Regions from separate parts of the Homo sapiens genome. Here all the other regions are linked to region 1. Evidence: promoter capture Hi-C in 16 types of primary human blood cells and fetal thymus (Javierre and others, 2016). All regions are on one chromosome and are shown on one strand. The core of a region is centred on a gene start or on the middle of the fragment in contact, and the rest is flanking DNA. Distances in the headings are between cores, read along the strand shown. Region 1 holds the start of ANAPC10 (anaphase promoting complex subunit 10). Region 2 holds the start of RPS3A (ribosomal protein S3A). Region 3 overlaps NDUFC1 (NADH:ubiquinone oxidoreductase subunit C1). Region 4 holds the start of RAB33B (RAB33B, member RAS oncogene family). Region 5 has its middle 5.2 kb from the start of SETD7.

Region 1 (4,422 bases), core at 889-3,388:
CTATGGTGTCCTGGCTGAGGGCAGTGATCACAGGACACTACAGACTGGGACTCCTGGGCTCAAGGGATCCTCTTGCTTTAGCCTCCCGAATAGCTGGGACTATAGGTGCATGTCACTACCCTGGCTTGATTTTTACAGTAGAATAAAAACATACCAGAAGTGGTTAATAAACTGATTTATATAAAAATAGTGATAAATTGTAATGCATTTAAGAAAAATGAACATGGATTCTTTGTAGAACTGTTAATTAACTGTGTGAACACTTTTAATTCAATTTCTGTATCAGTTTCAATAATTGGGGCAAGGGGATTCCCTACTTGTTTTTCAATAGAAAACCTAGGCACAGTAAAGCTTGGAGAGGAAGATTATAGTTAACAGGCTCCTGCAAACAAAGAAGGATTTGCGGATATTTCAGATTCGAAGACAAAAGTGTTCAAAATTGACACTAGAACAATGACCCTCAGTGTCATTCTTACAGCTGAGAGGAAAAAAGGAAGTGAGGAATACTTAGAAGCATTTACAGTCTAAAGCCAAAATAATTGTAACGCTGTGTAAAAGCATTTCAAAGACTGCTGTTAACTAATGATGTTTAGTATCACATGAAATAGTCTAACCCATGCTTATTGTAGTTTATTAGTCTTACAAAACACGTAGAAGTTAGGAGTGGTACACGGCTCTGATTTCAAAGAGTTTTAAGTTTAAGACATTTAGAAGAACTCTAACTTAATATTGTTTTCTCCCCCTCTCTCCCAATTGTTAGATGCTCTTCCAACAAACAAACAAACAAAAAAACTCCCTTTTTTAAAATAGGGGAGAACTAAGTTCTCAAAAAGCTCACAAACCCCAAACAGCTTTTGGTTCAAATACAGGTTCTGAGCCTTTGGTTACACTAACAAAGTATTAGTGTCAGGTGGCTGGTATACAATGAATATTCTCAGAATATGGGACAAACTACTGCAACATAAATGCCACTATCATAAATGACTAGTTAGCAGTCCTGTTGGGAAAGAGTAAAAAAATAAAACATGTTATTTGGACAGTTCTTCCTCTTATAGATTTTTACCATCAAAAAAGAGAAAATAAGCTTATGTAGTTAATGGGAGGTGGGAATTCGGCTTTGGCTGTCATTCATTCACAATACGTATTAAATGCCTACAATGTACGAAGCCCTGAAGAGATAATAAAGGTATTCTGAGTAAAGACATCAACCTTGATCTCAATGAGTATTAGATACAATAAAAGGAAAAACGGGTAAGGGGAGAAAGTGCCTAGTGCTACAAAAGCGTACCAAAAAAACTATAGGATTTCTACTGGGAAACTACTTGGGACAACCCCAGTCATAGCTGCGTACACGCTGTTCTGAGAAAAGCAGAGTGACATGTGGGCATCATTTCTATAAAGCCTGGGAGTGGACAGCGAGTATTCGACTTCATGGCGGCAAGATGCCATGACTCATTCCACTCAACAAAACGTGGAAGCCACGACTTCCCACAACCAAATATGCACATGTGACAATATATCCATTTTGGGTGCTGGAGGAGTGTGGGGGTACTAGAGAGTGCTGTAAGTTCTAAAGGTGCCTTCCTCTCCAGCAGGTTTAGCTTCAGGGCGGGAGTGGGGTAAAGGGGGAGTGGAGACTACGGCATCTAGGTCCATTCTCGAAGTCCCTCGCGGGTGTGGCAGGCAACAGCGGCGACAGCCGGGTCGGCTGGAGGGGAAGACCGAGGCGCCCCCAAGCTCTCGGCGTCGCCCGCGCTCCATCAGTTCCAGCTGTCCCGCAGGAACCGCTGCCACGCGCTGCTGCTGTCTCCGCCACCTAAGGCCTAACCAAAGGCTCTCGGAGAACGTCCCTACATTCTTTCCAACCTGGCAGATGGCAGCTAACGGCCAAACCTCTCCGGGCTATTCACGTACCTGGAGAAAACGATCCCCTTGCGGAGGGGAGCACAGAGGCCAAATCAGCTCTTGCCTTCACTTTTCAGCCACACAGCGTGTTCTCACGGCCACCGGCCAAAATGGCGGTGCCCAGCCGCCGCACGCGCAAGCCATAGGACGTAGTGCGCGCGCGCGACATAGAGCGTGAGGCGGAACCCTGGAGGTAGGTAGGGAGATATGACGTCATTGAGCTGCGACCCTTGTTCAACGCCGTTGGCGAAGCCAGCTGCTGGAGGTGCCGAGAATCTGAGTTTCGGCAAGCAGCCAGGTCTGGAAACTGTGAGTGTGTGGGCTTTTCTCCGACGTCGAGCGTGGTCCTAGCGTAAACAGATGCATTCGCCTCTCCGGTTTCAATCTTTTTTTACGTTTGCGCTTTCCTCAAGGCCGGTGGGTCAGGAGTGGAGCCTTAGTCATTCTAACGCTGGAGGTGTCAGTAGGACCAACAGAGTCTGGTGCCGACACGGCTTACTGTTGCGCGCTCTTCTAGGCCTCAACTTCCTCTCAACTGTGTGGTCAGTTCAGGGCCGGGAATCCAATCTTTTCCGAGCTCCATATTTTATCCACTTGGTGGCGTCCAGTCCCAAGTCCGGCAGTTGAATTCTGCCCTAAAGATGGGCTTTATTTCTATCTTTTTTTAGGTAACAGGACATTCAGTTAGTAATGATGGTTGCAGGTTGAATAGTCTCGCCCTAGATCTCACCTAACTTGCAGGCAAGTGACAACTAGTTCATAACTGAACCTATTCATCTGTTTATTCATTCAGTAAATTACTTATTGAGCGTTTAAGCCTCAGGCCTTGCCAAAGTTTACAGTCCGTTGTGTCTGCCGTTATTTAGTAAGTATCAAGTGCTTGTGTGCCGATTAAAGAACAACTTCGGATACAATGGGAGGTGTCAAGGAAACGGTATGCAGAACTATTGCACCTATTTTGAATAGCATATATAACAATGTTCAGTAGCAGTAACTGCGCTACCAAAGCAGTTTTACATATTGTTCACGATCCAGTATTGAAGTGTTTTTTCACATATGAATAGACTTAGTAAAATTAACAAAAGATGTGAAAGATGAGGTCAACCTTTTTAGAATGGGCCAGTTATTCACTTCAAAATCTTGAAGCCATTTTCCTGACCTTATCTTCTATGGTAAGAGCATATGTAAGTGAACTTTTAACATTTTTTTCTTATTTTTGTGCTTTTTGGGACAGTGTCTTGCTCTGTTACGCAGGCTGGAGTGCAGTAGCACGATCTCGGCTCACTGCAACCTCCGCCTCCCAGTTCAGGTGATCCTCCTGTCTCAGCCCCCCTGGGACTACAGGTGTGTGCCGCCACACCAGGCTGATTTTTTGGAATTTTTTTAGAGACAGGGTTTCACCATATTCCAGGCTGGTCTCGAACTCCTGGGCTCAAGCAATCCACCTGCCTTGGCCTCCCAAACTGCTGGGATTACAGGTGTGAGCCACCGGGCTGGGTCTTAAATAAAACTTTTGACAGCTAGAGGGCAGGTATGACTGTTCTCTGCATCACTCAATGAATATTTAAAATGAGGATCTTAGTGGGGTGATGGGATCACACCTGTAATCCCAGCTACTTGGGAGGCTGAGGTGGGAGGATCGCTTGAAGCAAGGTGTTCAAGACCAGCCTGGGTAACATAGCTAGATCCTGTCTCTAAAAAAAAAGGAATTAAGTAAATAAAATGAGGATCAATATTTATATATTCCTAGAATAAAAGTATTTCAGTCTGACTTTTCTAGGGCTAAAAGTCATTTGAATTTTCAGGCACAGAATTATAGAACTGCATAGCATTGTAGAAGTAAAAATCATCAAGTGAACCTCTTTAACAGGAGAGGAAATAAAGCCCAGACCTACTCAAAGTCTAGGCTGATTAAAGGAGATACTGAAGCCAAAACTTTGATTCTGTGCTCTTTTGACTACTATAGCTCACTGCTTTGCATATCTGGTCATATGAAACAAAACCTGAATTCCTAAGATTTTTATTTATTTAAAAATAGAGATGGGGTCTTGCCATGTTGTCCAGGCTGGTCTTGAACTCCTGGGCTCACATGATCCTCCTGTCTCAGCCTCCCAAAGTGTTGGGATTACAGGTGTGAGCCACCATGCCCAGCCCCTAAGATTTAAATTACAGTGATTTAATTATATTAACTGCATTCTTCAGAATAAATGATTAATGTCAGGGTATATGAGTTCCATTAAATTTTTCTTGGTAAAAAACTTTTGTAGAAAGATGCCCAGTTCCTGATACAATGTGTGCATTCTTGTTTTCTACATAGAATATTTTAAAAATGACTACACCAAACAAGACACCTCCTGGTGCTGACCCCAAGCAGTTGGAAAGGACTGGAACAGTACGGGAAATTGGGTCACAAGCTGTTTGGTCACTCTCATCTTGCAAACCAGGTAAAAACTAACAAACAAAAAAGCTGTTGGAAATAGTCACTTGCAGTTTCCTTGTACAGGCATCTCCCCTTAT
Region 2 (4,422 bases), core at 1,227-3,726, 6.0 Mb before region 1:
AATCAGTATGTATCATTTGGGACTGAAACATTTTGTCATCATTCATTCCCACATACAAAATATTCGAACTGTGCCAGGTGCAGTGGCTCACACCTGTAATCCCAGCACTTTGAGAGGCTGAGGCGGGCAGATCACTTGAAGTCAGGAGTTCGAGACCAGCCTGGCCAATATGGTGAAACCCTGTCTCTACTAAAAATACAAAAATTAGCTGGGCGTGGTGGCGGGTGCCTGTAATCCCAGCTACTTGGGAGGCTGAGGCATGAGAATCCCTTGAACCCAGGAGGAGGAGGTTGCAGTGAGCAGAGATGGCGCCACTGCACTCCAGCCCGGACGATAAGAGACTCAATCTCCCAAAAACAAAAAACTCCCACAAAATATTCCAACTGGATAGTTAGCCAGACACATCTGAAATATTTTCATTTCATCCTCACAATTCAATAAAATGACACTCTTATCTGCACTTTACAAATAAAGAAACCGAGGCTTAGAAAACAAGTTACTTTCCAACGAGAACACAATAGGCAAATGGAGCCCAGATTTTAACCTCACTCCAGAGGCTCTGCCACAATTATGCTCTACTGCCACAGTTAATCAACATTCACTCAATTCTGAGGTCAAAAAACATCCTTAAGACAGGCAAAACCGCCCACCTGCACCTAAACGTTCCTCAAAAAACCACTAATCTATGCAGCAAGAAAATCTGACTTTGATGATACACCACTATTAAATCTTAGATTTAAATAGTAAGTAAAATATGGTGTGGCAACCCCAGAGTTAGCACTCAACAACGGCAAGAAAACAAAAATTTAAAATGAACTTTGTGGACATTTCACTGGTCTCAATAAATAAATAAAATGAACTTGCTCCTTCCAGTCATCAAACCATGCTATCCTTGGTCAAACACCCATAGCACAACCACTCTAAGGAACTTTGGGTCTCACCTGCCATTTTTTGACCATGGAACACATTTTGTCACGGGTAAGATCCATGCCATGGAAGTTAGTCAGGCAGTTTTTACCCTGAACATCTTCAGTAATCAGCTTGAATTTTCTAAATGCAACTTCATCATTCTGCAAATCAGCAAGACTCACTTCAAACACACGACCCTTGAGACCATCAGATGCAATTTCTACAAAAGAAAAAAACAAGTATCTTAACATTTAGGAACCATATAAGCAAAGTCAAGCCTGTAAACTGAGGGTAGAAATTAAGTTAATGGTAAATTATAAAGACCTTAACCTTTGTTATCAAATCTATCCAGACACCAGTGACTTATCAACAGTACTTATTTGAAGCTCAGAACTACCCATGGCACATTTTCTTAATTCAAAAAGCACCATCTTGCTTCTCTCCAAGTGCTGTACTAAAAATGATCACCACAGGTGCCAAGGCTGCAACCAAGAGCTGACATTTCCTTAAAGTCTCCCACCACAGGACCAACAACAGACCAAGATGCCTGCTACAATATACAAGCGCCAACTTAAGGAAAATACAAACCAAGAATAAGCTACTTACTGGTTCCTTGGGTCCTGGTGACGAGCGTCTTTCCAATATTTCTTATATTGAACATAGCAGGTGCTTTCACATCATACCAATCTTTCTTAGAAAATGGATCAACCCTGGATTTTAAGAAGATGCTTAAGTTCCATTGCAGATCAATTCTTACTGTATTTTTCACTGTTAATGGTATTTCCCATTAATATTTTAAAAAGCTAACCGGCAATTTGATACCAAAGTATATCTCACAGTGAGGTGAGGGGAACAAACATAAATCTAGCTCTTCCCACTGTACGTTTCACTGCATGCATCAGACTTTGAAAGGTTATGTCCACTTCCCACCCTCATCGGTCCATCCACTACACAGGCACTTAGAATAACATGCATCGGTCCTTCCACTACACAGGCACGAGTAACATGCAATCTCATTAACTTTGCTGGCACGTAATGGCATGTACTGGTAACTAAGAGACTGCATGGCCCCAAAGCTTAGCAGGAGCTCGCAGATTCCAGCGGGACCAAGCAAAGGCGAGATTGACGGGTCCTGAATGGATAGAAGGGTGCTTTCCTCAACTCCTGCTGTCGCAGTGCCATCAAACACTCGCAGAATTGAGGCAGCTCGTGAGCCCACAAAACTAACATTCCAGCCGAGTCGCGCCGGCAAGCCGGCTCAAACGCGACGCGCGCAAGGACCAGAAGGCCTGGGAAAGGCAGCCGACCTGCCGCTACTCAACACCGACCCTCCAGGCCGCGTTCCTGGGTGCACCAACCCGCCACGGCCCGCACAATCCGACTGGAATCCTCGCCATCCGGCCTACGCCGCGATCTAGGACCAGCCCGCCGATTCCAGCAGACCCCCAAAAAGCAAGACGCCACGACAGTCGCGACTTACACTTTCTTCTTGGCTCCCTTTTTGCCGCCTTTCGTAAGGCGCTTGTTCTTGCCAACCGCCATGGTGCTGGTCAGAGAGCCAAAAGGGCGGAAGTGGGAGTCGCGCGAGAACTTAGGCGTACGGGGGCGGGGCGCGCCGTCTACGTGACCTTTGCCCTGTTATTCTTCCGGCCTCAAGAATTCCGGGACAGTAGAGAGCGCCACTCTTTCTACTGTGGTTGCGACATCGCCATCGTGTGTGGGGAGGCCGCGCGGCATGCCGCGGGCTCACTGGAGGCTGCGCTGTGTAGACCAAGGCGTCGGTGGCCTGACGTGCAGGCGTCTGGTTACCTGTGGTTTCTGTGGCTGTGACGTCGGGAAGTAAGTTTCTGTAAAACGAGACGCCCACTCAACATCGTTCAAAGCTGAACTCACCGTCTAACCCCCAAACCTGCTTTTTGAGAGCATTGGCTTTGGAGTCAGTCAGCGGATCTGATTCAAATGCCGGTTTCAACAGGGCTTTGCTTGAGACCGACCTCTCCACGCTTGTTTCCTCATGCGTAATATGGGGGTGATAAAACGGTCGGCTTCATGAGGTTTCATAGGGCTAAATGAGCATCACTCCAGAGATGCTAGCGACGTTCTGCTTGTTGATGTGGATGCTGGTTCATCTCAGGTGTTGTTGCTTTGTGAACATTCACTAAGCTCTACGCTTATTTGTGTCCTTTTCTATATGTCTGTTATATATTGATTAAAAGGTTTTTTTAAAATAGAGTGAGACCGAACTCGTTGGCTCACACCTGTAATCCCAGCACTTTAAGAGGCTGAGGCAGGGGAATCAACTGAAGCCAGGAATTGGAGACTAGCCTGGGCCACACAGCCAGACCCCGTCTTTACAAGAAAATGATAAAATTAGCAGGGCGTTGGCCGGGCGCGGTGGCTCACGCCTGTAATCCCAGCACTTTGGGAGGCTGAGGCGGGCGGATCGCCTGAGCTCAGGAGTTCGAGACCAGCCTGGCCAACATAGTGAAACCCCGTCTCTACTAAACATACAAAAAATTAGCCGGGTGGGTGCCTGTAATCCCAGCTACTCGGGAGGCTGAGGCACGAGAATCTGAGCTCAGGAGGCGGAAGTTGCAGTGAGCCGAGATCGCGCCATTGCCTGGCCAACAAGAGTGAAACTGCGTCAAAAAAAAAAAAGTGAGATCTCCAAATGTTTCCATTTTTGCAACTAATCCAAACCCGCCTCCCCCATTTTTTTTAACTGTAGGGGTTAACAGAGCACATCCTGGCAAGGTGTGGCTGGCTAGCTCAAGTGTGCAGCCCTCGGAAAGCATCTGGCCCATACAGGCTTGGTACTCAGCCAGTGGTGTGTTGAGTTCCCTTCTCTAACTTCCCCTCTGGCAGAAAACCCTGTGACCAAGCCAAAACCAACCCTTACTTACAAGGCCCCCTGCAAGCTTTTAAACTTACAATCCCTTCCAGTCCTGCTAGCCTCCATCCCCTACCTCCCACTACACCCACCCCCCAAGACAACCTTCCTAAACCTCTAGTAGGGTCCTGAAATCTTTCAGTAATTCCATAAATCTCAGTTGCCTGGAGGATAAATTCAAAGTCTTAGTTTCATAATAGTATGAATGTACTTAACACTACTGAACTCTACACTTAAAAAAGGTTAAGGTAGCCCTGCCAGGTGTCTCAGGCCGCTAGTTCCAGGTATTCGGAAGGCAGAGGCAGGAGGATCACTTGAGGCTAGGAGTAGGACTCCAGCCTGGGCAACATAGTGAGACCCCATCTCTTTTTTAAAAAGATGATTAAGATGGTTAATTTGGCCAGGTGGTGGCTCATGCCTGTAATCTCAGCACTTTAAGAGGCCAAGGCAGGAGGTTTTCTTGAGCTCAGGAGTTTGATACCAGCCTGGGCAACATTACAAGACCTAATCTCAACTAAAAATAAAAAAAAATTAGCCCGGCTTGATAGCTCATGCCTGTAGTCCCAACTACTCGGAAGGCTGAGGTAGGAGGATCCCCAGCACTTTGGGAGGCCAAGGCAGAT
Region 3 (4,422 bases), core at 485-2,984, 5.8 Mb after region 1:
TGGAGTCTCACTCTGTCTCCCAGGCTGGAGTGCAGTGGCGTGATCTCGGCTCACTGAAAGCTCTGCCTCGCGGGTTCACGCCATTCTCCTGCCTCAGCCTCCCAAGTAGCTAGGACTACAGGCGCCCGCCACCACGCCCGGCTAATTTTTGTATTGTTGGTAGAGACGGGGTTTCACCGTATTAGCCAGGATGGTCTCGATCTCCTGACCTATTGATCCGCCCGCCTCGGCCTCCCAAAGTGTTCTGATTACAGGCGTGAGCCACCACGCCCGGCAATAGTAATTATACTTTATTTCTTAATGAGAATTGAGGCTAATTGGAGTTTTATGAAGGTACCTTTTTCAGATGCTGTAAGGACAAACCAGCAGTGTGCAAGTTGTACAAATTGAATCCCAGTAGACTTCCATTAGGTTTTAATCAATGTTTGTATAAATACATTGTTGGAAATTGTACATAGTGTGTAGCGACCTTTTTAAAAAAATTTTCAGGCCGGACGTGGTGGCTCACACCTGTAATCCCAGCACTTTGGGAGGCCAAGGTGGGCGGATCACGAGGTCAAGAGATCCAGACCATCCTGGCTAACACAGTGAAACCTCGTCTCTACCAAAAATACAAAAAAAATTAGCCAGGTGTAGCGAAGGGCGCCTGTAGTCCCAGCTGTTCAGGAGGCTGAGACAGCAGAATGGTGTGAACCCGGGAGGTGGAGCTTGCAGTGAGCCGAGATCGTGCTACCGCACTCCAGCCTGGGAGATACAGCGAGACTCTGTCTCAAAAAAAAAAAAAAAAAAAAAAAAAAAAATTCACACCACATGCTTTACACATAAACTTGCGTTTAATCATTTCAACAACACTACGTGGCACCTACTATTGTTGACCCGTTACAGATAAGAAACACTTGGAGAAACTAGTTTGCTGAACCCAGTTCTCCTGACTTCAGAGGCCACACTATCCTAGAAAAGACTGTGAAACACTGCCTCTGTTGGGATAAAATTTCTTTTTAAAGTTAAAGTATCTGCTATATTAATATTTAAAATTTTGTTTTTTATCTAATGGGTTTGGGACTTCCTCCACTGTCCCCCAGCTCTAAGATATTTTAAATTTTCTTGTTGAAGTGGTTCAGATTTTTGACTTGGAAAGGGGTGAGAGATTTTGAGTCACTTACAACTTAATAGTAACTCATCTTTTTGAATAATGTTGCTTATAATGAATTTTATACATTCTTAATTTAAGGTTTTCTCTAACAAGAAGCTTAATTACTGCTGAGAGCACTAGTGATTGAACTTGGATCTTTGATTGCCATGAATGTCATCGTATATAAGCCATTTTTCCAGTTGCATATTCTGTCAGACAGTGGTCCTAAAAATGTGACTGTCCTCCATGACATCTAATTAATACACATACAGTTTCGTGATGGGGTTGGTCATTCAATCAAGGTATCCTACTTCTAAGATTAGAAGCATAACACGCACCCACCAACCAGCCTGGATCCCATTTAATAACCAAGTTGTGCTGTATCATATTGATTTACCCCTTCATGATAAGCCATTTCATTACGTTTATTACCCACCAAATGAGGTAAAATTTTTGGCAGTAGTTTAATTTAAATTTTTGGCCAGGTGCGGTGGCTCATGCCTGTAATCCCAACACTTTGGGAGGCCGAGGCGGGTGGATCACCTGAGCTCAGAGTTCGAGACCAGCCTGGCCAACATGGTGAAACCCCATCTCTACTAAAGATACAAAAATTAGCCAGGCGTGGTGGCAGGCGCCTGTAATCCCAGCTATTCAGGAGGTTGAGGCAGGAGAATCGCTTGAACCCAGAAGAAGGAGGTTGCAGTGAGCCAAGATCACGCCATTCCACTCCAGCCTGGGGTGGAGCAAAACTCCGTCTCTAAATAAATAAATAAATATATATATATATATTTAAGGGCTCCCTTCTCAAATTTAGGATGTCACATTGTGGTGAGCAAGTTTATACCATTCCTGGTTTTTGAACTTTTGGATCTCTTAGCCTTTTATTTCTAACTAGAATAGTTGTTTATTTTTTCTATCCTTATTCCTTTACAAAATATAAGTATCCAGGAAGATTACATTTCTAATTTTAACTGTTTAACTCTTTGTAGCTCATCAAACAACACAATGAAGATATTTTAGAGTACAAAAGAAGAAATGGGCTGGAATAAACTTTTGAAACACTAATGTAGTAAGTATACAAGCTTATTGGATGAATAGATTATGCAAATTAACTTGACCTCTTTTTTAAATACTGAAAAACAAGCTTGTTGTTTGTTTTGTATTAGGTTTATACATTTTAGCACCCATATTTCTGTCTGTGACAAATTTATAAATTTGTAATACCTTGCCTCAAGCAGTTGGTTTTGTTTTGGGGGGGATGGGGTTTTTTTTGTTTGTTGTTTGTTTGTTTGTAGACCTGTTGGCCAGGCTGGTCTCACTCCTTGCCTCAGCTTCTGAAAATGTTGGAATTATAGGTATGAGCCACTTTGCTAGCCTCAAGAATCTTTTAGCGTAATCATTTTTAATCATTAGTCTTTGACTCTGTTCAAAGAAAGGTATGTTTAAGAATGAAACCAAAATCTGCCAGGCGCGGTGGCTCACGCCTGTAATCCCAGCACTTTGGGAGGCCGAGGCGGGTGGATCACAAGGTCAGGAGATCAAGACCATCCTGGCTAACACAGTGAAACACCGTCTCTACCAAAAATACAAAAAAATTAGCCAGGTGTTGTGGCGGGCGCCTGTAGTCTCAGCTACTCGCGAGGCTGAGGCAGGAGAATGGCGTGAACCCGGGAGGCAGAGTTTGCAGTGAGCCAAGATCGTGCCACTGCACTCCAGCCTGGGTGACAGAGTGAGACTCCTTCTCAAAAAAAAAAAAAGAATGAACCCAAAATCATATTATTTTCTTAAATCTGATAGTGCTTTACACTTTGCTTTCATAGCACTTATGACAAATTATTATTCTTCGTGTGTGTATTTCTTAATGTCTGTTTGGTATCTTGTACACTTGAGTGTGAATTCCATGAGAACAGAAACCTATTTTATTAATTATCCTTTATTCAGCAACTTGCTCATCTGGTCCATTTAGGAGTTTAATATTTGTAGAAGTGATGAATGTATAACGGCAATCGATTCTTTTTATTTTATTTTATTTTTTGAGACGGAGCCACCAGGCTGGAGTGCAGTGGCACAATCTTGGCTCACTGCAACCTCCGCCTCCCAGGTTCAAGCAATTCTCCTGCCTCAGCCTCTCGAGTAGCTGGGACTACAGGTGCGCGCTACCACGCCCAGCTAATTTTTGTATTTTTGATAGAGACGGGCTTTTCCCATGTTGGCCAGGATGGTCTCCATCTCTTGACCTCGTGATCTGCCCGCCTCGGCCTCCCAAAGTGCTGGGATTACAGGCGTGAGCCACTGCGCCTGGCCAGAGCAATCAATTTTTAAATTTTTTTCTGCATGACTATTTCATTATGATTGTCAACTCAACTAATACCCAGTTGGACAGTTCCTGGTAAAAAACCTAGTTATGAACAAGATAGTTTATTCTGCATGGTCTGTGATTTAAAAGAGAAAGTTTATTATATATATATATATAAAATATATACATCTGGCTGGGCGCAGTGGCTCACGCCTGTAATCCTAACACTTTGAGAGGCTGAGGCGAGTGGATCACTTAAGGCAAGGAGTTAGAGACCAGCCTGGCCAACGTGGCGAAACCCCATCAGTACTAAAAATACACAAAAAATAGCTAGGCATGGTGGTGCGCGCCCGTAGTCCCAGCTACTTTGGGAGGCTGAGGCACGATAATTGCTTTAACCCAAGAGGCAGAGGCTGGGAGGTTGCATTGAGCCAATATTGGGCTACTGCACTCCAGCCAGCCTGGGCAACAGAACAAGACTCTGTCTCAAAAATAAATGAATGAATAAATAATATATTCATCTATAGATATGTATCAAATATATATAAGTATACCATATACAGTGTACATATATATATATATATATGGTGTATTTCTGAAAACCTTTTTTAAAAATCCTATATTAATCCTTTTATAAGTGAACAGTCACTTAAAAATCTCAGCTTTCATAATTGGGTTGATTAAGTAACTTATATCTGCTGTATAATAAACATAGCGATCACAGACTATCCTTTTTTTCCATATTTTATAACTCTGAAACTGAGCTCTTTACTGTTGATTATCCAAATCTTTTGCCTTTTTTCTATTAGCACCCTGCCCATTTCACTACTCTAATCAGCCAATCAAGAGATAAAATGAGTCTGGGCTTGGTGGCTCATGCCTGTAATCTCAGTACTTTGGGAGGCCTAGGCAGCGGGATAGCATATGCCCAGGAGTTTGGGCAACATAGTGACTTTGTCTCTACCAAAAAAAAAAAAAAAAAAAAGAGGTAAAA
Region 4 (4,422 bases), core at 958-3,457, 5.6 Mb after region 1:
CCCAGTTTTTCGGAAGAAAAATACAGACTCTGAGAGGTTAAAGAATCTGCCTAAGGTCCAGGGTGACCAACTATTTTGGTGTGCCCAATACAGGGGGTCCCCGGGATGTGAGACCCAGTTTTAAAACCTGGACAGTCTTGGGCAAAGTTGGTCACCCTAGTAAGGACACGCAGCCCATCCCTACCCTTTCGTAGGTTCAGATATGAATCCAGGTTAGTTGGGCTCCAAAGCCCACGTACTTCCCAGATTCCTGCTTCTCCCAATCTTAACTCCCTTGGAACTTCAGAAGCTCCATTATTTTTCACCCCAAAGGCTTCTGGGCCAAACCTAATTCTGGTGAAAAATGTTTAGCCTTTTATTCTATCTTTTCTTCTGCAAGTATACAAATCTTTCTAAATTCCCTAATACAAAGCAACTCCAAAACCACCACTGAGAGCTCATATGGGACATGAAATACTAATGTGAAAAATTAAAAGACAGAAGCACCAAAGAAAGGTTAATTTCTTTTAACCCAGCTTACTTCACCTCTACCATCATTAGCAGTATAACCCGTTGGGGTGGGGGGCGATGATTAGGGAACTGAAAAATAAATTGTTCTTGCCTCTAAGATACGAGGGTAGGAACGTCTAAAGCAAGCCTGTTCTCCCACCACTCCCCATCCCCACCAAGAGACTGAGATAAAGACGATCGCTGATTTAAAGCAGTAGTATAAGGCAAGGTGGTTCCACCTATGTTTTAAGGAGTGGCATCAACAGGTGGCATTTAGTGGTGGCTTGCTATGAAGGTGTGTCTAAGGTTTATACCATCAAGAGGCCTAAGCCTTGTCATTGATCCTCATTCCACTGTTAGATTCCAACCCCTCAGAACTTCAAACCTGCCCTGGGGCCTATACTACCTTCTCCACTATTACTGTCACTCAGTGTCCCCAGTCCCAGGGACCAAAAATAACGACTTAAAGGGAATAAAGAATTGGGCGTGTGTCTGAGGTGGCATCATGAGAAATGCTTTTGGCAACCTGAGTAGGAACTATCACATATAGAATGTTTCTGCAGGAAAATAGATTTTTCTAAAATCAGTATCATAAAGAAACTACTACAGCAAAACTGTATGCAAGAGAATACCTAAGTACTTCCTCAAAGGCAATAGGCTTTACTTCCACAACATCTAAGGCACTGCTCGAATGAATGTTTAATAACTATTACTGATTAAATGAATTTTCCATTCTCGCGCAATTTCACTGTTTTTCCTCCGTTCATATTTGACTGACTCCCAGCACACGACACACACAGTAAATGGGTCGGTAGATAAGCCCTACACTCCTGAACTCAAAGTGTGGTCCACGGACTAGCTGCACCTGCATCATCAGCGAGATTATTAAATCATAGCCTGCATTTTCAAAAACAAGATCCCCAGGTAAATCGCATGCACAATGAAGTCTGAGAAACGCTGCCTTAGAAGTTTGCAGTATTGCAATCCTTCCAATCCCCAACTCCAATCTCATCAGCGTGAGAAAAAAATGGAGCGCACACACACCGTGCACACGGCCAGCGACCAGCCCACGGTGGGGTTGGGACACCTGTCACCCTGTCCTCCCCAACAGTTCCCCATCCGCTCACCTTGATGCGCTCCCCATCAATCTCCACCGCTCGTTCTCGGAAATCCACCCCTATCGTGGCCTCGGTGCGGTCGGGGAAGCGGCCAGCGCAGAAGCGGTAGGTCAGGCATGTCTTGCCCACATTGGAGTCGCCGATCACGATTATCTTGAAGATGCGGGAGCGGGCAGGAGGCAAAAACCCTGAGGCCCCTGACACTGCCCCGCTGGACGAAAAGCTTGCCTCGAGCGACGACTCCATCTCCTCAGCCATTCCCCCGACCCGCCCCAAACTGAGGCGGAGGAAAGGAGACACAGAAAGGCTGAGAGATTACGCCACCGCAAGAGCGCGCGCCCAGCCGGCCAGTTCGGCTGCGCAACTTCCCAGGAGCCACCGCCCACCAGCCCCGAGCGCGCCTGCGCACCTTCCCGCCCCGCCCTTGCCCGCACAGGTGTGGCACCCGCCCGCCCCGCCGCACGGAGCCGCCTGCCCGCGGCCACACGCCAGGCGTCACTCGGGCTGGCGCCGGTCTACCTAGGCAGGCGTGGGACCTGTCGGGGGCTTCACGGCAGCGCGGAAGGCCAGCCTGCAGAGAGGCTGGGCCCAGCGCCCTGACTGACCCAGCCCCGCCACGTCCAAGGTTCCCGCCCTCTGGAGGAAGCCGCGCAATCACTCCGGGGGCGGGGAGAGACAGACAACTGAGAGGAAGGAGGTACCACGGGCACTCTCTCGCGAGAGGGCCGCAGAGCCGCCTTTGACGGGGGCGTGTACCTGGAGAGCAACGGTAAGGACGGAGCCGACGGCTCCGGCGTCGGGTCGGTTCCGGCATCGACGTATCGTTTGGTCGCCCCAGAGAGGAGACAGGTTTCTTCAGCTTGCCGCTGAGGATGTGGCATCGGCTGCGCTCACCGCCGCCGCCTCTGTGAACTGCGGGAGTTGGGACAGCGGCCAGGGCTAGATGGGTGGGACGCGAGTCCTCGCCGAAAGCTTGCCCTGTGCGGGGCGCACTTGGAGGCGAGCTCTGGGCCGTGGCGAGTTTTGCAGCCTAAGGTCTTGGCAGGCGCATTGCTGTGGGCTGCCGGAGAGCAGGCTGGAGTTCGAGACCGCCCACCGGAGAGCAGGCGAGAGTTCGAGGCCTAGGTACAGCGCATTTCGCTAGGCATCCCCAAGAATATCCGCGTGATCCTTGTGGCCAGAGTTTGTTGAGCTAATATCCCCAGCCCAAACAGTAGAGCACATCACATGTCGGCCACCTGGGAGCGTTGAACCTGGTAGTTACTAGGCGCCCCTGGTGGAAATAAAACTCATTATGCCCTAGTTATGTCTTAGTGCCTGGGTGACGATGATGTAGCGGTTAAAGATTAACTGAGCGCACTTAGAGGTTGTCTTTGTCTACCTAAGGAAAATATCAATAGATTAAACCCCCAACCTTAAAGAATCTCCGTGAATTTTTCTGAGGAAACGTGCAATATTGTCATACAAAAGGCCCCAAATATGCAAACATTGCTTTTTGTTAAAAGTTTGTTTTGTTTTGCAGTGACATCTGTTTGAGCAGATGAATATGCCATTGGGAAAGTCAAGGACTGTCGGAGAGGAGGACATGGCAGACCTTAACTAAAGTGAGGGGGACAGTAGAGCACTAAAAGTTCTAGGAAAGGAGATGAACTGCTTATTCCATCAGATGAAAATATAGTCAGAACAGATGAGTAGTAGAACTTAAACATGCCCGGAGTTGCCAGGAATTTGCAAAAGCCTTGATATAATTCCTGTTGCTGTAGAAAGACTTTCTACAGTCACTAATATATCAAGTTATGTTCACTAGAAAAAAAGTTTACTTAGTTTATAGAAATGGGCTGAAAAATCCTAATTACTTATCTGTGAGGTTATTTTCATGAAGGTTAATCATCCAGAAACTATTAGAGAGCCTCGGAATATATTTCTTCTAATCTGCTCTACCTATCCCATTCAAAGGAGGGAATCTGAAGATTTAAGGACAAAGAGCAGTTGAAAACTCAGAGCTGTGGTTAATGGGAGAATTTCAAGGATGGTGAAAAAAACTAACATCATTGCATCCCTGTTTTTTGTATTCTGGACTTTTTAGTTTAGCTCTTGGTAAACTACATCAGAAATTCTTTATGCTAACTCTAACACACATTTTGGGGTATTGCTAATTTAATCTTTGAATACTGTTTTTGCTGTTTCATGATTATATGTTATGTCCTACCAGCTAGATTGCCAACTCTTGACTACTGACTGGAAGTTTATTGTTTATTCAGCAAATAATGAATTAAGTCAGTGAAGTGAGAGATTTCGTGTGTAAGGATTGTTAACTTGAACATTTCACCAGTTACACACAGTTCAGCCCTACTTAAATTTTAAAAATCATTGTTGGCACTTGACATTGTTATGAGGAGTTTTGTATTTTCAACTTGTATTTTGAGAGTGTCCTCATGTGACTGAAGTATGTGCTACTCTTCTTAATTGAATAACCCCAGAATCTCCAGAATTGATAATTGGAGGAAATTCTACTGTTGGAAAGAATGGATGGATTATACAGCCCTGTTTTTTGACTGTTCATTTTGTCCTTGGAGTCACTACCACTTGGCCTCAAAGTGTGAACATGTAACCCTTTCCTTAATACTTTGCTACACAGCTGAGCAGAAACTGTAAATTTGGATCCTTTGTCAGTACAACTTAAAATGGAACAATTTCAATGGCTTAGGGTAAGATAAGTATGTAAAGATACTTTTGTAATAGAAGAAAAAACATTGGATATTAAAATCACACAGTAGTACCTGGGTGTGGTGGCTCATGCCTATAATCCCAACGC
Region 5 (4,422 bases), core at 841-3,340, 5.5 Mb after region 1:
ATGTCAGCAATAAAAATAGCCCCTTAGATGAAAATGAGCCTATAAACAAGATGACTCTGCTTGGATATAACCAATTCCACAATTCTCAATGCACATTTTCAGAAGGATTATTTTGAAATATTAAGGAAAGTTAGTTGCAGATACTCCAAATTCTATAGGATTGGCGAGAAGGGAGAGATCACTGACTTGCCCCTCTCTCTTATCTTGTCTACAACTGAGAATGAACCTGACCTGGTTCAAATCACAACCTTTGCCACACCATCTTGGGGGAGAGCACAGAACAGGGGACACAGGTGAGGTCGAGGTGCCAAGACTTTACAGCTGAGTAATAACCAGGCTCCCTGCTCTGCTGAAGAACTCACACTATCTCAGACTTAAGACATTCCCCAGATGCCAGGTTGGGAAGTGATGCTTATAACTTCAGAAGACCTACTCTCAACTGGCATTTTTCTCCAAGGAGACAGTACAAGGCCTACCACAGGGCTGCTTTCTTTTTGGTCCTCTATCTTGAGCACAGGAGCATTTGAGCAGGGCTCTTTAAATTTGTCTGAAAGACATTCCAAAAGTTGGCCACAGCATCTTTTCCCAAGAATTGATCTATGGACTCAGCAAGGAGGATCAATAAGACCTTAAATGACCTGAAAGGACACGCCAGATCCAAAGAGGCTGCAAGACAGGTCTCCAGCAAATACATACAGGAAGGGCTGGCTTAGCATCAAGCACCTCCGGGTGAGGGCTGCCTGTAGATCGAGGGTTGTCATTTCAGTGCCAGGTCCCAGAAACACTCTAATCAACCTGTCTTTGTTTGTGACTGAGTGAAGAGGACCACATGGGTATTTTCATTTCTGGATATTGGATTCAAAGCCAGACAGTCCCATTTGGAAAATGAAGAGGACACTTTGCCCTCCATCTATGTTATAGTAGATGGAATCTGCATCCTCAAGGTGGCGTTCCGTTGCCTAAGCTATCATAGCAAAGAGCCAACCTCTCCACTCCTGCACAGAATAGAAATATCTTTGAGCTGAGTGCCCAGGAAAACTTGGATGACTGTATCACAGGACAGGCCACGTGGGTCTTAATATGTCTCTGGTCTCTTTCTCAGAAATCATGGTAGCCTAAGAAGGTTGGCCCACTGTTGATGGCTTGTGAAGCAGAAATGAGGTGCTTTCCCAAGAACTTGAGAACCAGGTTGCTCTCAGAAAGTTTGACTACCAAAATCTGCACACTCAATGGTTTTGACTAGAATTCAGTGGGCATAAACCAAGAGAGTGACTCAATTTGTGACTGAGAAGTTTGAGGATTACCTCAAATTCCCATTAAAGTGACTTGGCTGTAATGCCAGGAAGATAGAGAATGTCATTATGACTTAGAAAGTGTAAATCTGCCTAATGGGCTGTATAGGACGCTGTGTGGAGAATCAGGTTTGGAGAAACTAGAGCACGGAGAAAGAAGCTTGAAGCCTCAGAAGCCATAGGGCCCATCTAAGCAGAGGTGAGTGGGATGGGTGGGCAGCCTCATTCTTTCAGAACACTGTATCAGAGTATTTGTCTTGTGGACCACACAACTAATGTCCTTCATTCTACTCCAGATAACTAAGCAAACTTTTGGATGGAATTTGTCTTCTCAAGTGCATTTATTTATATAGAGAGATCTTTTGCCCTGACAGTGTGAGTATTCTGATCTGTCCATCATAATTCAGGCATACATCTCAGTCTCTCGGGGTCTAGTTAATGTGAGTCCACTTGAGGAAGGTCAAGAGCTGACCCTTGATGAATGTTATGACATTTGTGGTAAATAGGTCAGCTGGAAATACTCCTCTGCCCATCCTGGATATTGTAGTGTCAAAAGAGTATACCATGTACCTGCCCTCTGCAATGTCTACTTTTGCAGAGGACCAATTGCAGGACTCAATAATCTTAATTTTAGCCTAGTAAAGTAATTTTTCAAAAACAATTAGAGAAAATAATATCTATGAAAACACATTTGGTTTTGGTGGCGGTTTGTCTTTATTTTTCAAGTTTCTGCAATCCTATTGTTTTTCTAAAGTAATTTCTAAAACAGATGCCCCTTTGAAAACTATTTCCAATTTTTCTTTGTGTGTGTGTGTGTGTGTGTGAGGGTTTTTTTTGTTGTTGTTTGTTTTTTTGAGATGGAGTCTCACTCCGTGGCCCAGGCTGGAGTGCAGTGCAGTGATGCCATCTCGGCTCATTGCAGCCTCCGCCTCCCAGGTTCAAGTGATTCTCCTTCCTCAGCCTCCCAAGTAGCTGGGACTACAGGCATGCACCACCAGTTTTTGTATTTTTGTAATTTTTGTATTTTTAGTAGAGACAGGGTTTCACCATGTTGGCCAGGCTGGTCATGAACTCCTGACCTCAGGTGATCCACCTGCCTCTGTCTCCCAAAGCGCTGGAATTACAGGCGTGACCCACCGTGCCTGGCCTCATTTTTTTTTTTTCAATCATTTCACTCAGCAGCTTCACTAGGCCCAAGCCTGACATAAGAGTTTTCATATCCCATAATGCAAAAAACCCCAAGAACTCTGTGAAGGAACAATATTGGCCCAGAGTCGACCCAAACAGGGAGATCTGGGCTGCATCTTCCCTCCCCTCCCCGCCCCAGAAAGTCTAAATTTAGTTTACTGGATACCCTGCAATGACATTAACATGTCATTGCAACATTAACATGTTGCAAAAACAAGAATCAAGCAAAAGAGAAAGAGGAAGCTTAATGTGGCATGAGGTATTTTAATACCATGGCAACTGTGGTGTCTTCTCTATTATTTAATTCACTTCCTTAGGTCAGGTTATTCTGCCCTCTCTCTCTTGCACTTCCTGTTGCTGTAATCAAATCAGGTCACCCTGAATCTGTAAGTCTTCTTCCTGACTGCACTCATGTCTATTTCCAGCAGAATGAATTTTCTCCATTTCTTTCTTTGCTCCCTGGACCTTTATTTGGTGCCCTTGATGTCCCTGCTCTTCCCAGTGCTCCACAAGCTGCAAACGCTTCCCTTTCATCCCCATCTCCTCCCCCACCCGTCTCCTCCTCGCTGCTCCTCTCCCAGCCCCTCCCTCCAGCTTCTGCAGTTGTCACTAACACAGTTAGCCACTTGATTAGTGACTCAGTGATTCAGAACCCAGGAACCTTGGTTCTCCTAAAACTTCCATGCTTCCCTCCCTAGAGTCAAGATAAAGGTTCTCCCCTCACCTGCCTGCCCAGATAGAGCCATTAACGTGAGAGGACTTGAGTATTCAGTTTGTTGGAGTTGCCCTGGCTTCTTCCCATTTCCTTTTTATGTGCCTTTTCCTGGGGCTTCTCAGGCTCTATTTACCTTTTCTCCAGAAAAGGTGGACAGAGAAGGTTTGAGCTTCGAATTTATGTAGCCCAACTCTTCATTTACAGATGGGAAAACGAAGGCCCCCCCCCCGGCCCCCGCAGAACTGAATTGCCCAGTTGCTTGGCTAGTTCTTGGTGGAACCAAAACAGACAAAGCAAAAACTCAATCAAACTGGCTAATTTGGTGGGAAAAAATCTTGTGAAGGAGTGAGCAGTGCCAAAACGAGACTTGATGATTATTTAAAAGGTCTTTCACTAATTTTATCCTTGTCATCCTGCTGGCGGTGTAAGCAAGTGATGGAAACCAGAGCCAGGCCAGCAACCATAAAGCCACCAGGGCTTCTGGAGAGGCTCTGATGCGACTTCCTACCGCTGAGGTCTCAGAGGCTCCTCCCTCCCAAATACATGGAGACCCAGAAGACTGCTTGGGCCCCTCCACTCCCTGCCAGCGGGCAGGATGAGGAGTCAGTAACAGCCAACAGTAGTGAATCCCACATAAGTTCCACATTCACTACTTGTTTCACAATTCGCTTAGCATGCATAGCAGCGAATTGACAGAATTGTTTCCCCTAAATGTAGGAAGGTGCATAAAATACAAGAAGCTTGTAAAAATATATTTATTGCAAAAGTTATATCAGTCTTGTATGTAAGCACCAGCCTTCTCCAGGGAAAGACAGGGGTGGTAGAATGAATAAAATTAACTCAGTATTTTGACTGCTTGCTGCAATGGAAGAGGGAATTATGTTTCCCAAGCTGGGTATGAAGAGAAGGAATATAGCCTTGGAGGCAATGGAAACTAAGCCAGAGCAGCTTAGAAAAGTCACCCCTCCTCCTGATTCAAGACCAAAGACAGGGAAAAAAAAGTCACTCTCAGTGTGAACATGAAAGCAAGTCTCACCCAGCCTAGATGTTGGATGTCCTGTGCGGTCCCGTTCCTCCCTGGTAGAGCTTGTTCTGTCTCACTGGGATCTGCCAAGTTAGGAGCTGAGCCACACTACTTCTGCTGCTGCTGTTGCTGCTGCACATTGTTTGTGATTAAGAGTTTTATTGATTTTCTAGCCCATGACCACATTGGTGGGGACAGAGTAC

The links. Contacts are between HindIII fragments. The CHiCAGO score rates a contact against its expected background, and 5 or more counts as called.
Region 2: the fragment with the promoter of RPS3A here is called in contact with the fragment with the promoter of ANAPC10 in region 1 in 1 of 17 cell types (total CD8 T cells); the score reaches 8.1 in total CD8 T cells.
Region 3: a fragment that was not itself captured here is called in contact with the fragment with the promoter of ANAPC10 in region 1 in 1 of 17 cell types (naive CD8 T cells); the score reaches 6.8 in naive CD8 T cells.
Region 4: a fragment that was not itself captured here is called in contact with the fragment with the promoter of ANAPC10 in region 1 in 2 of 17 cell types (non-activated CD4 T cells and naive CD4 T cells); the score reaches 8.2 in non-activated CD4 T cells.
Region 5: a contact is called between a fragment that was not itself captured here and the fragment with the promoter of ANAPC10 in region 1, in 1 of 17 cell types (monocytes). The highest score is 8.6, in monocytes.

The regions. Positions count from the first base shown.
Region 1 is chr4:145,095,912-145,100,333 of GRCh38, reverse strand. ANAPC10 (anaphase promoting complex subunit 10) reads left to right here and starts at 2,138. Exons shown (of 5, transcript NM_001256706.2): 1 at 2,138-2,214; 2 at 4,223-4,349. The coding sequence starts at 4,235. It overlaps ABCE1 (ATP binding cassette subfamily E member 1), which reads right to left and starts at 2,023. Exons shown (of 18, transcript NM_002940.3): 1 at 1,915-2,023. RefSeq lists enhancers at 1,712-1,791, 1,140-2,011, 2,042-2,301, 2,382-2,431, 1,565-2,764 and 1 more. The HindIII fragment of the contact is 4,584 bases long and covers 1,087-4,422 here.
Region 2 is chr4:151,097,682-151,102,103 of GRCh38, reverse strand. It overlaps RPS3A (ribosomal protein S3A), which reads right to left and starts at 2,476. Exons shown (of 6, transcript NM_001006.5): 1 at 2,390-2,476; 2 at 1,516-1,619; 3 at 942-1,129. The coding sequence starts at 2,451. It overlaps SNORD73B (small nucleolar RNA, C/D box U73B), which reads right to left and starts at 47; the gene lies at 1-47. RefSeq lists enhancers at 1,553-2,136, 2,157-2,716, 2,137-2,721, 2,020-3,219, 3,497-3,566. The HindIII fragment of the contact is 1,842 bases long and covers 1,988-3,829 here.
Region 3 is chr4:139,290,309-139,294,730 of GRCh38, reverse strand. NDUFC1 (NADH:ubiquinone oxidoreductase subunit C1) reads left to right here. Exons shown (of 6, transcript NM_001184989.2): 5 at 2,122-2,201. The coding sequence ends at 2,181. Among named protein-coding and RNA genes, the nearest start is that of NAA15, 9.0 kb to the left of the region's middle. The HindIII fragment of the contact is 965 bases long and covers 1,252-2,216 here.
Region 4 is chr4:139,451,639-139,456,060 of GRCh38, reverse strand. RAB33B (RAB33B, member RAS oncogene family) reads right to left here and starts at 1,940. Exons shown (of 2, transcript NM_031296.3): 1 at 1,617-1,940. The coding sequence starts at 1,865. It overlaps RAB33B-AS1 (RAB33B antisense RNA 1), which reads left to right and starts at 2,020. Exons shown (of 1, transcript NR_159964.1): 1 at 2,020-4,386. RefSeq lists enhancers at 1,643-1,692, 2,313-2,652 and a silencer at 1,913-2,242. The HindIII fragment of the contact is 749 bases long and covers 1,833-2,581 here.
Region 5 is chr4:139,559,227-139,563,648 of GRCh38, reverse strand. No RefSeq gene overlaps it. Among named protein-coding and RNA genes, the nearest start is that of SETD7, 5.2 kb to the right of the region's middle. The HindIII fragment of the contact is 1,271 bases long and covers 1,455-2,725 here.